Linked DNA regions of Homo sapiens: all the other regions are linked to region 3. The links are contacts of gene promoters, found by promoter capture Hi-C in human tissues and cell types (Jung and others, 2019). All regions are on one chromosome and are shown on one strand. The core of a region is centred on a gene start or on the middle of the fragment in contact, and the rest is flanking DNA. Distances in the headings are between cores, read along the strand shown.

Region 1 (2,742 bases), core at 2-2,501, 190 kb after region 3:
GGGAGGCTGAGGCAGGTGGGTCATCTGAGATCAGGAGTTTGAGACCAGCCTGGCCAACATGGTGAAATCCCATCTCTACTAAAAATACAAAAAATTAGCTGGGTGTGGTGGCAGGCACCTGTAATCTCAGCTACTCGGGAGGCTGAGACAGAAGAATTGCTTGAACCTGGGAGGTGGAGGTTGCAGTGAGCCGAGACCATGCCACTGCCCTCCAGCCTGGGTAACAGAGCCAGACTCTGTCTCAAAAAAAACATAAAAAAGAAAAAAATAAATAAAGTTCATCACAAAAATGCTTAAGCATTTCATCAGGAATGTAATTTCTTTCCAGAGGGAGGTTATGAATTATGTCATGCAAAAAACTTTGGCCGCAGACCAGGGCAGAAAAAAATAAAGAACTTCTTTTTCTTTTGCACAACAAATTGTCAACACACACCTCAACACCTATGCTAGGCACCACACAGGAGGCCAGAATGCATCCAGGCAAAGTAAGGCAAGCACTGGGCAAGGAAAACAGAATGCTGGGTAGCCGACTTGAGCTTGTTGGCCCGCATTTGGAAGGTGTTCCAGGCAGAAGGGAACAACACAAGCAAGGGTGCAGAGGGAGGGAAGTGCAGTGTCTGGGGAACCATGGCAGTCAACTTGTTTTTTTTTTGAGACCGAGTTTCACTCTTGTCACCCAGGCTTGAGTGCAGTGGCACGACCTCGGCTCACTGTAACCTCTGCCTCCCGGGTTCAAGCGATTCTCCTGCCTCAGCCTCCCGAATAGCTGGGATTACAAGCGTGCACCACCACGCCCAGCTAATTTTTGTATTTTTAGTAGAGATAGCGTTTCACCACGTTGGCCAGGCTGGTCTCGAACTCCTGACCTCAAGTGATTGGCCTGCCTTGGCCTCCCAAAGTGCTGGAATTACAGGCATGAGCCACTGCGCCTGGTCTTTTTTTTTTTTTTTTTTTTTTTTTGAGACAGAGTCTCACTCTGTCACCCAGGCTACCGATCAGTGGTGCGATCTGGGCTCACTGCAACCTCCACCTCCCAGGCTTAAGCAATTCTCCTGCTTCTGACTCCCGAGTAGCTGGGATTACAGGTGCGCGCCTCCATGCTTGGCTAATTTTTGATTTTTAATTTTTTTTATTTTTTTAAGACAGAGTCTTACACTGTCACCCAGGCTGCAGTGCAGTAGCCCAATCTTGGCTCACTGCAACCTCTGCCTCCTGGGTTCAAGCAATTCTCCTGCCTCGGCCTCCTGAGTAACTGGGATTACAGGTGCCTGCCACCATGCCCAGCTAATTTTTGTATTTTTAGTAGAGACGGGGTTTCACCATGTTGGCCAGGCTGGTCTTGAACTCCTGACCTTGTGGTTCGCCCGCCTCGGCGTCCCAAAGTGCTGGGATCACAAGTGTGAACCATTGTGCCTGGCCTAATTTTAATTTTTTTTTAGTAGAGACAGGGTTTCACCATGTTGGCCAGGCTGGTCTCGAACTCCTGGCCTCAAATAGTCCACCCGTCTTGGCCTCCCAAAGTGCTGGGATTACAGGTGTGAGCCACTGTGCCTGGCCCAATTTCTTATTTTATAGGAGAGGTCAGATTGAAAAATTGTGTCTAATCCCACACATGGGGGTGGGGGTGGAGGATTGAAGAGTTCTAGGGACCTTTGTAGATGGGTGCTGTCCATGGGGAAATATTATACAAGGAACAGGTAACGGAAATGCAGAGCAGGGAGGCCCAGTGGAGAGATCCCAGGAAGACTTCTCAGAGGAGGTGGCAATGATGATGGACTAAGAACGCATAATAATGTCTGGGGACACTCCTTATGTGATTCTTTTTAGCCACAGTAAGTCACCATGTTGCTTATGTGTCCCCAGCCCCAAACGCCCACTCCCCTCACTGCCACCCCAGCTCCCAGAGCAGCAAGTGTAATCATGGGGGCAGGGGAGAGTATCTTCCTTTGTCTTACAGCTGGAGGGGGCCTTGTACACCCACTCCTAATATCACAGTAGGTGTACAATGAGAGGTCATTGAGAGCAGCCTCCCCTTCAACACCAGCCACCCTCCTGATTTAAGGTTTGAGCACTTTCTCCTGACTCCATAAGAATGACAGCTAACACTTATTGAGCACCAGGTTCTATTCGAAGTACTTTATAAATAGTATCTCATTTAAACTTCAAAACAACTCTGAGAGGCTGGGTGTGATGGCTCATGCCCATAATCCCCAGCACTTTGGGAGGCCAAGGCAGGCGGATCACCTGAGGCCAGGAGTTCGAGACCAGCCTGGCCAACATGGTGAAACCCTGTCTCTACTAAAAATACAAAAATTAGCCGGCATGGTGTCAGGTGCCTGTAATCCCAGCTACTCAGGAGGCTGAGGCAGGATAATTGCTTGAGCCTGGGAGACAGAGGCTGCAGTGAGCCGAGGTCGCACCACTGCACTCCAGCCTGGGCAACAGAGTGAGACTCTGTCTCAAAACAAAACAAAACAAAACTCTGAGAAAGGCACTAATATCATCACTATTTTTTAATTGAGTTAGCCTGGGCTTCTCTGACTTCAGGGCCTGTGCATCTGACCCCTCTTCTGTGAGCCCTCTGCTTTTCTGCTTTTTCCCCAGTCCCTGCTTCATTGGAGATCCTGGCCTTTTCCTCTCCTCTGGCCCCCTCTCTACACTAACAGGGACACATCAGGCTCACACCTGGACATCTAACCAGGGTGAAGGAGGGGCTCTTTGGGGTACCCACTCACAGATTTC
Region 2 (2,914 bases), core at 413-2,912, 130 kb after region 3:
TGGTGGCGGGCACCTGTAGTCCCAGCTACTTGGGAGGCTGAGGCAGGAGAATCGCTTGAGTCCGGGAGACGGAGGTCGCAGTGAGCCAAGTTCGTGCCACTGCTCTCCAGCCTGGGCAACAAGAGCGCAACTGCATCTCAAAAAAAAAAAGAAAGAAAGAAAGAAAGAAAGCCTTGTTGGTCTTTGGTCTTGCCTCTTATCACCTTCATCACTTTCTAATGTTGTGCTCTTATTTCCGGTGTGTCTCGGGCCCCTACCAAGGGCAGCCTGGAGTCTGGCGCATCTTCGCAGTCCATGTGGGTAGGACAGTGCCTGGCCCATGGTCAGGGTCCAGGGGAGGAGGAGTGCTTTGCATCCACTTTCCCAGCTGGAAAGCTCTGTTCCTGGCCTTGTGGCTGACTCCTGCATGGTGTTTCCCTGGGTCACCACGGCGACAAGATGCTCACTTGCAAGCAAATAGGATCCCCTGCCCAGGGCTGCCAGCCTCAGCAGTTCTTGACCTCCAGCTGAGCTGAAACTGAGAGGATGCCTTTTCCACCAGCTGGGAGCTGAGCCCATAGGGCTCCCTCCCTGACCCTTTGGTGACTGTGCTGAAAGCAGATACCTCCTGCTGCCCCGGGTTTGCTGCCTTCTCCTCCCCACCCACTGCTAGAGCCTGTCTGGCATCTATGAAGGGAGGACGTTTGGGCCAAAACAGGTGGTGGTCTCCTAGCACACAGCTACCAACTGCATCCTGTCTGCAAGGGAGACTTCTTCCCGGGGCTTTGCTTTCTCCTGGGTTTCAGCACCATGGAAGGCCGCCTATATTCTACGCCATAGCGGGTGGGAGAAGGGTACGAGGAGGCTGCTCTTGCCTGGCCTTGGGCTGGTGGAGCGTGTCTGAGGGAATGAGGCCTGATCTGTCTGCCCTCCCTCTTCGCAGCATCCCCCTTTGCCCCCCACCTCCACCAAGTCTGACTCAGCCCTTGCTTGACACAGATCTTAAGCTCTGGGCTGGGTGTGGTAGCTCACCCTGTAATCCCAGCACTTTGGGGGACTGAGGCGGGCAGATCACTTGAGGTCAGGAGTTTGAGACCAGCCTGGCCAACATGGTGAAACCCGTCTCTACTAAAAATACGAAAATTAGCTGGGTGTGGTGGTGCAGACCTGTAGTCCCAGCTTCTCAGGAGGTTGAGGCAGGGGAATCACTTGAACCTGGGAGGTCGAGGTTACAGTGAGCTGAGATCACGCCACTGCACTGAAGCCTGCGTGACAAAGCAAGACTCCATCTCAAAAAAAAAAAAAAAAAAATCTTAAGCCCTCATCAGACTCGCCTTGGGAGGGGCAGGTGATGTGGGCCACAGCCCATCTGCCCTAGGCCAGCGGGGCCCTGAAGCCTTCTACTGCCTGGAAACCTTGCAGGCAGGACCAGCTGCAACCTTTTCTGGCCAGCTTCTGCCGCCTTCCCCTAAGACAAAGGTCTGAGGACAGCTTGCCAAGGGTTCCACTGGTTTCTGCCTTTCCACAGGGCTCCTCTGTTGGGCCCTTTCCCACTTCACCCCCTTCCCAGGAAACCAGAGCTCTCACCACCTCCCATGTGGTCCACTCGCTGGTTCATTCTGTCAGCTTTTATTGAGCACCTATTGTGTGCGGATCATTGGCCTGAGCCCTGGGACTGAGATGGGGAGGGCCCAGCCCTGCCCTTACAGCTTGTTTGTGGTACAATTCGCACAAAGCGGCTTAAATGGGAGCTTTGTTTGATCCAAGGCAGCTAGAAACAGTCTTTCCTTCGAGGTACCTTGTAGAAGACACTCCAAGTCCTGGCTAAGCTTTCTCCACTTTGTCATGACAAGGATCTTTTACTGCGTTTCCCCCTAAGTCTCAAGATTTTCTACCACACCACATTCAAGCCAAAGCTTAAGGCACTAAGGAACACACACGCGCGCGCGCACACACACACACACACACACACACACACACACCACCCTTACTCCTAAAAAAGCTAATACATGCACAAATATATATCCTAGAATGTGAAAGGTCCACTACCCCACTTCTGGGGTAGAAAAGGTGGTGTGTGTTCCTCCAGATTTTTTCCCTTGCAGATGCTAACACTGTCTTTACAAACTTGGGCCCATTTGGGAGCTGCCAGTTTGCTTGGGAGGCACACAGCCTCCAAGGGCCACCATCTGACCCCTGGCAGAGACTCCAGCCCACACCTCTGCCCAGAGTAGAAATGATGTCAAGCTCTCAGTCCTCCTTGCCCGCCTCCCCACCAAGCGGCACTCAGCCAGCCTTTCTAAAGCCCTCTGTTGAAAGCCCTCATTGGCCAGGAGGGGGCGGCCTTTCTCCCTGCCACCCCCTTGAGGCCCACACTCCTCTTTGCCTGGAAGAAGAGGGTTTGTGTGGGCAGTGCAGAAATCTCACCTGGACTCTGGAGGCTGGGGGCTTCTGGGCTTTTCTGCCCATTCTTCCTCACTCTGGCCATATCTCTCACCTCCTCTGTCTCATGGCCCCAAGAAACCAAGTCACAGAGGCATCACCATCCAGGTTGGCCAAAGCCTCCTTTCTGGACTGGCCTGCTACCAGCTCCGTGTGAACGGCTAGTTCCCATATGCTGATAAGACATATCAACAGCTAGGTCTTAGCATTTCCATTAAACAACAGCTAGGTCTTAGCATTTCCATTAAAAAAAAATTACTTGGCCTGGTGTGGTGGCTCACGCCTGTAATCCCAGCACTTTGGGAGGCCAAGGCGGGCAGATCACGAGATCAGGAAATTGAGACCATCCTGGCTAACACAGTGAAACCCCATATCTACTGAAAATACAAAAAATTAGCTGGGCGTGGTGGCATGTGCCTGTAGTCCCAGCTACTCTGGAGGCTGAGGCAGGAGAATCGCTTGAACCCAGGAGGCGGAGGTTGCAGTGAGCAGA
Region 3 (3,070 bases), core at 324-2,823:
AATTAGCCGGGCGTGGTGGCACATGCCTGTAATGGCAGCTACTTGGGAGGCTGAGGCAGGAGGATTGCTTGGGCCTGGGAGATGGAGGTTGCAGTGAGTGAAGATTGCGCTACTGCACTCCAGCCTGGCCAACAGAACGAGACTCTGTCTCAAAATAAATACATGAATTAAGTTAAATTAAAGTAAATAAATTTAGTTCTTGCTAGATAAAACGTTTCCTAATCACTGTTACTCAGCATTTATTTACTCAACATATGTTTATTGAAAATACTCTGTGTAAAAGTGCTGTGTTAGGTATAGCTGAGGAGAGAAATGTTTGGAAAATATTTCTACCCTCAAGTACTTAAGCAGAGGAGATGTTCTTATAAAAAGCAGAAAGTAGAACCTGCCCTAGGAGGAGACATAAAGGGGAGGAGCGATGACGCATCATCCAGAAATACCAGCTGTTGTCATCGGAGACCTGTCGGCCAGAGCTGAAGAAAAGGCATGAGTTGGCCTCTCCTCACTATCCTATGGCCCTCCCGACCCTCGCCCCTACCTCCTTGTGGGCAGCCGAGTTGGACTCCCAGAAGCGCTGTACTTTGCTGAAGGTGACGTTTGTGCAGTCGGAAAGGCCACTCAGGAAGGTACCCGAGGACTTCTCGGTGAGAACCAGCTCCGCCTCTTCTTCCATGGGCGTCTCCGGGGCTTCGCTTTTGCCCAAGCGCAAGGACCCTGACTGCAGCTCATTATGTAACTTCACAGCATCGACTGTCAGGTCACTCCTTCCTGAGAGCCAGAGGCACAAGATAAGGTCCAAGCCTCCTTTTGGTCAAGAGAACAGAACAACCCCTGGGAAACAAACCAGCCCAGGCCAAATCTCCAACCCGAGAGGCTGAATTCTGAACACAGCCAGTCTCATAAAACCACTGTATGCCTAAAAACTTGAAAAACCAAGGAGAAAGGGAATCCTCCATGTAAAAGTTTCTGCTTCCCTGTAGCAGCGGCATAAACGCCACTGGGAATCGGCTGGGAGCTACATTCAGAGGGCCTGCAAAATAAATGAAGGTGAACGCGCTCTGTAAAGAGCTACCCAAGGTCCAAGCCATCTGTCTCAACTCTGACACCCGCGGTACCTTACACAAGACATTTCCCTACTGCGGACCTCAGTTTCTGTATCTGCTAAATTGGAAGGACTGCCCTTCAGAGAGGGCTCCAGATCCGACATCCTAAGAGACGAAAGGTCCAATGCCTGGCCCCGCACTCTCCCAGAGGCCCCAGACTCATCTGGACCCAGGTCTGCCTGGAACCCCGCCCCCGGCTGCGCTCGGGTCTCAACCCAGCTACCTGACGGCCGGCTGAAGAAGCGGCTGCGGGCGGCCTGACGGTGGCGGCAGATGGCGGGGTTGCTGTCGCTGCTGTGGCCTTTCTTCCAGCGCTTCAACTTAGCTGAGACACCAGAAGGCAACTTTCCCGAGCGACCCATGTTGACTAAGCCGTGGCGAGGAATGAGCTTAAATGACCGGCTTCCAGGGACGTAGAAACACGCTCAGAACCCACGTGGATACCCTGTAGCCTTCACTTCCTCTTCTTCTGGCGTCACTTCCGGATTCGTGTGCATTACTATGGTAAAACAGTCAACATCCGGTTTTACACCTCCTCCTGGCTTCGGATGGGGAGGAGCTCCAAGGAGATCCGTTGCTAGGGAGGAAGTTAGGTTGCTAAGGGTTCTATGGGGTTCTTACTCCAGCCAGGACCAGGTTTCAGGGCCACAGGCGTAAGCCTTATAAAACTGGAGTTTGGCTGAGCGTGGTGGCTCATGCCTGTAATCCCAATACTTTGGGAGGCTGAGGCGGGTGGATCATTTGAGGTCAGGAGTTTGAGACCAGCCTGATCACCAGGGTGAAACCCCGTCTCTACTAAAATAAAAAAATTAGCTGGGCTTGGTGGCGCGCGCCTGTAATCCCAACTACTCGGGAGGATGAGGCACAAGAATCACTTGAACTCGGGAGGCGGAGTTTGCAGTAAGCCGAGATCACGCCTCGGCACTCCAGCCTGGACAACAGAGTAAGACTGTCTCAAAAAAACAAAACAAAGCAAACAAAAAACTGGAGTTCTTTTGCAGTTAAACAACAACAAAAAGTACATTTATATTACATTTGAAAATCTATTTTCAAAATTAAGCATAGAAACACATTTATATGAAAGTCATATACCTTCATATAAAAGTATATATGTAATCCCAGCACTCTGGGAGGCCGAGGCGGGCAGATCACCTGAGGTCACGATGTTCGAGACCAGCCTGACCAACATGGAGAAACCCTGTCTCTACTAAAAATACAAAATAAGCCGGGCGTGGTCGCGCATGCCTGTAATCCCAACTACTGGGGAGGCTGAGGCAGAAGAATCGCTTGAACCTGGGAGGCAGAGGTTGCGGTGAGCTGAGATCACGCCATTGCACTCCAGCCTGGGCAACAAGAGTGAAACTCCATCTCAAAAAAAGAAAAAAAGAAAAAAAAGAAAAGTCAAAACTTATGGAGACTTGAAAGTGTGAAAATTAGCTTGACTTGAAAAGAGAAAAAAGCAGTCAGTGGTGTTCTAGACAAGCTTTGCTATTTTCATTTATTACTGGAGATACTCAGTTGCTAAGCCACCTTGCCTTATGACAGCATTCCATCCCTAATTAATCCCTGGTTCTCCAATTTCTCTCTCTCTCTCTCTTTTTTTTTTTTTTTTTTGAGACAGAGTCTTGCTCTGGTGCCCAGGCTGGAGTGCAGTGGCACGATCTCGGCTCACTGCAACCTCCACATTTCAGGTTCAAGCAGTTCTCCTGCCTCAGCCTCCCAAGTAGCTGAAATTACAAGCATGCACCACCGCGCCCGGCTAATTTTTTTTTTTGTATTTTCAGTACACGCAGAGTTTCACCATGTTGGCCAGGTTGGTCTCGAACTCCTTTCCTCAGGTGATCTGCCCACCTCCCAAAGTGCTGGGATTACAGGCATGAGCCACCGCACCTGGCATCCGGCCAATTCCCAGTTCTCCTAATTCCACCTCAGAACCAGCAACCGATCCAGTTTATCCCCACTCCCCT

Evidence for each region. Contacts are between HindIII fragments. The study calls those that stand out against the background at their distance.
Region 1: a contact is called between a fragment that was not itself captured here and the fragment with the promoter of RRP12 in region 3, in 1 of the 25 tissues and cell types used here (aorta).
Region 2: a fragment that was not itself captured here is called in contact with the fragment with the promoter of RRP12 in region 3 in 1 of the 25 tissues and cell types used here (bladder).

The regions. Positions count from the first base shown.
Region 1 is chr10:97,593,234-97,595,975 of GRCh38, forward strand. All of the region lies in intron 1 of HOGA1 (4-hydroxy-2-oxoglutarate aldolase 1), which reads left to right. Among named protein-coding and RNA genes, the nearest start is that of C10orf62, 4.9 kb to the left of the region's middle. The HindIII fragment of the contact is 5,729 bases long and covers 1-2,742 here.
Region 2 is chr10:97,532,652-97,535,565 of GRCh38, forward strand. All of the region lies in intron 1 of UBTD1 (ubiquitin domain containing 1), which reads left to right. Among named protein-coding and RNA genes, the nearest start is that of UBTD1, 35 kb to the left of the region's middle. The HindIII fragment of the contact is 3,452 bases long and covers 1-2,914 here.
Region 3 is chr10:97,399,767-97,402,836 of GRCh38, forward strand. RRP12 (ribosomal RNA processing 12 homolog) reads right to left here and starts at 1,574. Exons shown (of 34, transcript NM_015179.4): 1 at 1,327-1,574; 2 at 539-768. The coding sequence starts at 1,465. RefSeq lists an enhancer at 1,058-1,107. The HindIII fragment of the contact is 11,530 bases long and covers 1-3,070 here.